Regions from separate parts of the Homo sapiens genome. Here region 1 is linked to region 2. The links are contacts of gene promoters, found by promoter capture Hi-C in human tissues and cell types (Jung and others, 2019). All regions are on one chromosome and are shown on one strand. Each heading gives the region's core, a stretch centred on a gene start or on the middle of the fragment in contact. The rest is flanking DNA. Distances are from core to core; before and after follow the strand shown.

Region 1 (3,611 bases), core at 867-3,366, 84 kb after region 2:
CACATGTTGAAGATTTAACTCATTAATTAATGAGGGGACCAGTAAGATATAGGGGAGAAGAAGGATTCAAAGGGGAATTGGTTCATGACCAGCCTGTCCAAGATGGTGAAACCCCATCTCTGCTAAAACTACAAAAATTAGCCAGGCATGGTGGCAGGTGCCTGTCATCCCAGCTACTCAGGAGGCTGAGGCAGTAGAATTGCTTGAACCTGGGAGGCAGAGGTTGCAGTGAGCCGAGATCTCACCACTGCACTCCAGCCTGGGTGACAGAGTGAGACTGTGTCTCAAAAAAAAAAAAAAAGAAAAAGGAATTGGAAGAATAGATACATAGGCAGGCAATGCAAAATGCTGAATGGGTTTGCTTGTAGATGAACCTCTGGGCTCCTCTATAGGGCAGAAGCAGTGCATCTTCACTCAGACAGACTTCATGGGGATTCCATGAGCAGGGTCATTCGAATCACTGTCAGCTTTCTACAACCTAGTTCTAAAACAGCTCAGTCCGTGCAATGGGAGGTGTAGCCCCTGTAGAATCAGACAGCTCTGAACGTGTTCTAGCCAATGTCAGACTACCACAACATTCCATTGAAAGGGTACCCACTTATTGTTATTGCCCACTTAAAGTCTTTCCCAGTTTTCCCTGATGTTGGTACTTTTTTTTCTCTCAGTCTTGAAATTAAAGTGGTTGATATGTCCTTCCACTCTATATTAAATAAAATGTTGGTTAAAGTGCTGTATAAATTATAAAAAATAAGACTATTAAAATAAGACTATTATTAAATTATGTCATCATATTCCTGTAGTCTCACAGATTGAGTCCCTGCTACAGCTTAAAGTCTATCACAGTTGGTAGTTTGAACACACATTAAGCCCTTTTTCATATGTTATACTTTTTTTTTTTTTTGAGACACAGTCTCACTCTGCTCGCTCTGTCACACAGGCTGGAGCACGTGGTGCGATCACAGCTTACTGCAGCCTCAACCTTCCCAGGCTCAAGTGATCCTCCCGCCTCAGCCACCGAGTAGCTGGGACCACAGGTGTGCACCACCACACCTGGCTAATTTTTATATTTTTAGTAGAGACAGGGTTTCACTTTATTGGCCAGGCTGGTCTTGAACTTCAGGCCTCAAGTGATCTACCTGCCTTGGCCTCCCAAAGTGCTGGGATTACAGGCATGAGCCACCTCACCCAGCCCTGCATTAGACATTTTTTTTAGTGGGGGGGGGTGGGGGGGACAGAGTTTCGCTCTAGTTGCCCAAGCTGGAGTGCAATGGCACAATCTCTGCTCACTGCAACCTCTGCCTCCCGGGTTCAAGGGATTCTCCTGCCTCAGCCTTCTGAGTAGCTGGGATAACAGGTGTGTGCCACCATGCCCGGCTAATTTTTTGTATTTTTAGTAGAAATGGGAGTTTCACCATGTTAGCCAGGCTGGTCTCGAACTCCTGACCTCAGGTGATCCACCCGCCTTGGCCTCCCAAAGTGCTGGGATTACAGGCGTGAGCCACTGCACCAGCACCCGGCCACATTAGACTTTTAATCCCAACTTTCCTACCTGAGAGAAATAGCATGAAAAGTGACAAAATTTTTACAAAATCAGTCAGAAGCTGGGCCTGTAAATTAACTGTACTCCGAGACTGGAACTCTTCCCATCATCTTACAGCTCTAATGGAAGTTTATATTAGTATCTGTAAACAAAACTTTCATTGCAGTTCTCTATTCGTGATCATTGATTTTTCAACTTGATATACAAGGGGATTTTAAAAATTAACCTTTTGTCTCTTTTTCTGTTTCTCCTCGCAGTTCGTTCTATCACACAGAGCAAGGAGTGGATTGAAAATTAGTGTACTCTCGTGCAAGCTTGCAGATCCTACTGAGGCAAGCAGAAACTTGTCTGGACAAAAACATGTTTAAAACGGTCTATCATTTTGAACTCTGGAAAAGTATAAGAGTTTTAACTCCCTTTAAAATGGAATATTAATTTGAAAATTATGGGGAAAATTGCATTTTGTTTACATGTGGTGAACATGTTTCTAGAAATTGTTATGGTGGAGGTGGTCTGGGTGAGTCTGAAGGCCTCTCTCATCTGACCTCCCTTCTTAGAAGGCCTCCTACTGTCTTTGCCTTGTCTCCTCCCAAGTTGGAAAATGTTTACATGAATTAATAAACAGATTTAATCTTCTACAGATTTGAATGATTTATTTTCTTTTCCATGTAGTTGAACGGCTTTGAGTGAGTTTCTTAATCCTGAGTGAATGATTTATTTTCTTAAGCCAGTTTATTATTTGTCTTGGTTCCCTGGAAAAAGAGTAGGACCTCAAGGGCTGGGCACGGTGGCTCATGCCTGTAATCCCAGCACTTTGGGATGCCAAGGCAGTCAGGAGATCGAGACCATCCTGGCTAACACAGTGAAACCCCATCTCTACTAAAAATACAAAAAATTAGCTGGGTGTGGTGGCACGTGCCTGTTGTCCCAGCTACTCGGGAGGCTGAGGCAGGAGAATCTCTTGAACCTGGGATGAGGAGGTTGTAGTGAGCTGAGATCCAGCCACTGCACTCCAGCCTGGGCGACAGAGCGAGACTCTGTCTTAAAAAAAAAAAAAAAAAAAAAAAAAGTACCTCTAAAGACTACTTTCTGAGAGCTGGGTGGTGACTCGTCATCTGACAGATCTGACAGGATGAGGGCAAGGGGCTCTTGGTGCTGGGTGGGAATAGCCAAAGTCGTGGGCAATCCTGTGCGACTGCTTTGAGCACCTGGGGCTCTTCTAGTCCCTGGTCTTCTCTGGTGACACACTGGAGTGCCCAGTGCTTGTGGAGGCTTGCTGGCTCAGGGCTGACATGACTGAGTCTGAATCAACTGGGAGGAGACCAACTTCAAAAGGTTCATGAGCATGCCTGGGTCTCAGAACTCTGAGGGGGACCTACTCAGGACATGAGGACGACAGCTGCCACTTTATCTGTTTGCTTTGCAGCAGCCACAAAGTAAACGGCTCAACTGCACACCATTGAGAGTCACTTGCTTCAGGGCGCAGACTCCAGCTGTGAAGACCCACCGCTAAGGTCAGTGTTGACCCACGGCCTGGGAGGTTTGACCTGGTACTTTAGAAGGCTACATGCCCTCCACCACAGGATTGAAAAAAAAGGAAAAAGTGAGTATATGAAACTGTTTCCTAAGGCTGGTGTTGGGAGATAAACCATCGTCAGTCATGTTTTATCTGGCTTTTACCATGTGCAGCCACAGAGGAGGGATGCAGGTTCACCCCTAAGTGTCCAAATTGTGGTGATAAGGTAATGAACGACTTGACCTAGTTGTGCAGAACAGGCCTTCCATCCTCCCTTGGGGAGAACTGGGGGGTTTGTGAAGCCAGGTGAATGGGGAGGGTGGACAGGGAAGGAAGGAGAGGAGAGAAGTGAGGGTGTCGTGGTTGGTGCTGGCTTGGCTCCCACTGTTGGTTCAGCAAGAGTGGGTATGGTGCCCCCTCCACTGAGCCCCGTGTCCAGGAGCTCAGGAGAAGCCACCTTACTCGGTTAATTTTAAAACATTTTGTAGAGACAGTGATCTTGGCATTTTGCCCAGGCTGGTCTTGAATTCCTGGGCTCAAGTGATCCACCCACCT
Region 2 (3,450 bases), core at 5-2,504:
CCCGGCTGCTGGGACTTGTCCAGATGCCATCAGGGCTGGAACGGCTCATTAACGCAGCAGAGCCCAGGACAGGGGCCGCAAGCCCTTGGCTGGGAAGAGGCTGGGCCTCTGCCGGGAGCCTGTGCCGTGCCTGCCTGGCGCCAGCCCTGTGGCCAGGAAGGCTGGGGCAGAGGTGGAGAGAGGACCCGGGTCTCATACCACCTTTGCCTTCGGATGGGGCAAGTTGCTCGCCCTCTCTGAGCCCGGCTCGCCTCCCCTGCCTTCCCTGCAGGCTGCTGCTGGGCGTTGGGGATGTGAAGTTCCCGCAGTGTCTAGCGGCCCCCGCAGGTCCCACCCGAGAGGCCCCTGAATCTCACGCCCCTCAGAGGCAGCCCCTGGGGGAGGTCCTGGGCTCCTTCTCTTCCCCAGCACAGGGGTCCCTGAGTCCTTTGTACTCCAGTGGGGTCCACTTTGCCAGCTTCCGAAATGCATCACTGATGTCTCTGGGCAGTGCCAGGTGGACCAAGGCTGGGCAGATGGGGTGACTTAGTAGACAGAGTATGTCTCAGGCCTGAATTCAGTTCACCACTGGGCCCCTGGGAGGGAAACCTATTTTCTCTGAGCCTGTCCCCTCCATTCTAAAACAGTAACCAGAGGTGACTTGACCTCTCAGCGGCCAGGCTGTGACCCGATGTGTGACTGTCAGCTGGGAGTGCAGGACGCACGCCATTCCCGGCCGCAGACTCCCCCCACACGTTCTGGGATCCCTCTCTGCACACTAGGGTGCTGTCCCGGCCTCTTTCTCCCTTGGCAGGCCGAGTGCCCGGATCGACGCTTTTCCTGGGTCCCCTTGGCCTGGCGATGAGGCTCCCGCTCCTGCAGGCCAAGGCTTGGCCTATGCACCTGCCGCGCACGTCCCGGAGTGGGGTGGGGGGGGAAGGGGATCGGTCTTCAAACAGAGGGTCCCGAGGCCCGCGCGCCGCCCTGTCCCTGCCCTGCGTCCCGAACGGCCACCGCCGCCGCATCCTCCCCGCGCAGAGGTGAAGATGCCGGAGTCAAGCGAGCCAGGGCCTGGGATCTCGGAGCAGGAGCGTCCTGGTGGTCCCGGCAGCTCGAGTCGCGCCCGGGTGGTGGCGGCTGCCGGCGGGTCCAGCCCAGGCAGTGGCCTCGGAGGCGGAGTGGGCGGGGGAGGGGGAGGGGGGAGGGCGTCCAGACCCCGCCCCCGGTCCCGCCCCGCGCCCGCTCCCAGGCTGCGGGACCGCCGGGCGCAGAGCACAAGCCGGGCACCCACGGACTGAGCGGCGCGCGGGCCGAGATGCGCGCCCGCCTGCTGCCCCCGCTCCCGGGCCTGGAGCGGCGCGACCCCATGGCAGGTAGCGGCGGCCTGGGCGGCGGGGCCGGGGGCGGCCAGGGCGCAGGGGCCGGGCAAGGGGCCGCTCTGCGGGCGTCCCGCGCGCCGATGCTGCTCGTGGCCCTGGTGCTCGGCGCCTACTGCCTCTGCGCCCTCCCCGGCCGCTGCCCGCCGGCCGCCCGCGCCCCCGCGCCGGCCCCCGCGCCCTCCGAGCCGTCCAGCTCCGTCCACCGCCCGGGAGCACCCGGCCTGCCTTTGGCCAGCGGTCCCGGCCGCCGGCGCTTCCCGCAAGCGCTCATCGTTGGCGTGAAGAAGGGCGGCACGCGCGCCCTGCTGGAGTTTCTGCGGCTGCACCCCGACGTCCGCGCGCTGGGCTCTGAGCCCCACTTCTTCGACAGGTGCTACGAGCGCGGCCTCGCCTGGTACCGGTGAGCACCCTGGCCCGTCCGCCCTGACCGGCGCCTTCCTGGGGAGGGTATCGTGCGCCCCAGGGAGCAGCGGCACGATATCCTGCCTCCCAGGGAGCAGGGGTGCGCTCCGGGCAGTGGGGTTGGGACCGCCCTGTGGGGGCCCCAGGCTTGACCTGGGGTCCCGGCTCCGGAAGAAGGAATGATACTTGGCTAGGATTCCCTGAAACTTTGAAAACTGTGGGGAAAGCCCCGGTTCCGTTCTCTCTGCTGAGGGACCCAGCAGGACTGGGGGAGGCGGTGGCTTCCCAGCCCAGAGGTCGTTTCCAGCCCGTGGGATTACCTGGCAGCGTCAGAAATGCCTCTGCCGCCCGCTCACTCTGGGCACTCAGGTGTGACCGACCGCTGGCCAGGTACTGTAGAAAGGGGCCTCCAGGTTCCAGGCAGCCACCTAGAAAGCGTCCTTCCTCCCCAAGACCCCCGAGTCTGCGCACAGGAACCCTTGTTGGTGGTCCTGGGAGTCCGGAGAAAGTCTGGGCTTTGGAAAGGAGGAGACTGCCTTTAGGTGAGTGCCCAGGGTGAGTCCAGCCCCGTGCATGGGGCTCTGTGGCTGTCCTGCCTCTACCCAGGATGGACGTGGGGGTGCGGCAGCCTCAGCTGAAGCAGCCCGCGCTGGTGGCTGCTCATCCCCAAGCTTGGACCCAGCGCCTGCAGAGAGGACCCTGCCCAAGGCCAGTTGGGGAGTCAGTGGGGGTGGCAGGACCCAGACGCTTCTCCAGGTGCTCCAGTTTCTCCGTTCCCGATCCTCTGATCCTCTTCCTTCCCTGACGCCTACCCCTATTTGTTAACTTTGCCTTTTGTACTAAAACTACTCTTGGGTTTGGAGGGCAGGCAGGAAGGGGCTCCGTGAGAATAGGGTGGCTCGCTTCTGAGATCTGAAGGGCTGGTGCCAGTGTGGGGTGCTGGGGAAGTCAGGTGGTGGCTAGGGGACATGGAGTCCATCCCGGGGCTCACCTGGCTGAATTGGGCATCCTCAGCTCAGGCTCCAGGGAGAGACCTCACTCCCCTGACGGCAGGCAGGGGTCAGAATGCATCCCTAATCCCTGCTGCAGGGAGGAGGGTAGGAGGGGCTACCAAGCTAGAAGCTGGGGAGGAGGGGAGTGGCGAGACGGGGGAGGAGGGGAGAGGCGGGAGGGGGAAGGGGAGAAAGGGCTTTGGGTTAAGGATGCACAGTTAACTGGAGTAAACACTTCAGAGCCACCCCTGAGCCCCATGAGCTTTGACAGCAAGAGACTGGGGGTGGGATCTGAGCTGGGCCGTGAGGAGCCACAGGGGAAGCTAGGGTTGGGTTTAGCCCTAAAGGGTTCTGGAAGAGCCCAGGCTCCTGAGGCCAGTCCAGGCCCGCCCTGGGCATGTGTCCAGCGCTGGGGGATCAGTTTGGGGAGGATGAGAGGCAGCCAAGGCCAGGCCCAACTTGGGAGTCAGCTCCTTAGCCTGGGGGTGGGGTTCCGGGGACACTGACGTGCCCAGGGTTGGAGGGGGGTACAGGAGAGTGACTGCTCTGGTAGATTCTTGACGTCCTCATTTTTTAGAAGGGGGAGGGGTGGGTGTGGAGAATTCCAAGGGGTCAGTCCCGTGGCTTCTGCCTCATTAATCTGGTATTGTCCCTTGGACCAACTGTGCTGACCCCTCACTGGGCGGTGCAGAGCCAGT

The links. Contacts are between HindIII fragments. The study calls those that stand out against the background at their distance.
Region 1: a contact is called between a fragment that was not itself captured here and the fragment with the promoter of HS3ST6 in region 2, in 5 of the 25 tissues and cell types used here (IMR-90 fibroblasts, dorsolateral prefrontal cortex, lymphoblastoid cells and 2 more).

The regions. Positions count from the first base shown.
Region 1 is chr16:1,832,553-1,836,163 of GRCh38, reverse strand. MEIOB (meiosis specific with OB-fold) reads left to right here. Exons shown (of 14, transcript NM_001163560.3): 14 at 1,798-2,178. The coding sequence ends at 1,908. It also overlaps a transcript of FAHD1 not described here. Among named protein-coding and RNA genes, the nearest start is that of FAHD1, 7.2 kb to the right of the region's middle. RefSeq lists a silencer at 3,022-3,316. The HindIII fragment of the contact is 8,140 bases long and covers 1-3,611 here.
Region 2 is chr16:1,916,219-1,919,668 of GRCh38, reverse strand. HS3ST6 (heparan sulfate-glucosamine 3-sulfotransferase 6) reads left to right here and starts at 1,254. Exons shown (of 2, transcript NM_001009606.4): 1 at 1,254-1,758. The coding sequence starts at 1,346. RefSeq lists enhancers at 1-35, 36-599, 600-1,161. The HindIII fragment of the contact is 13,256 bases long and covers 1-3,450 here.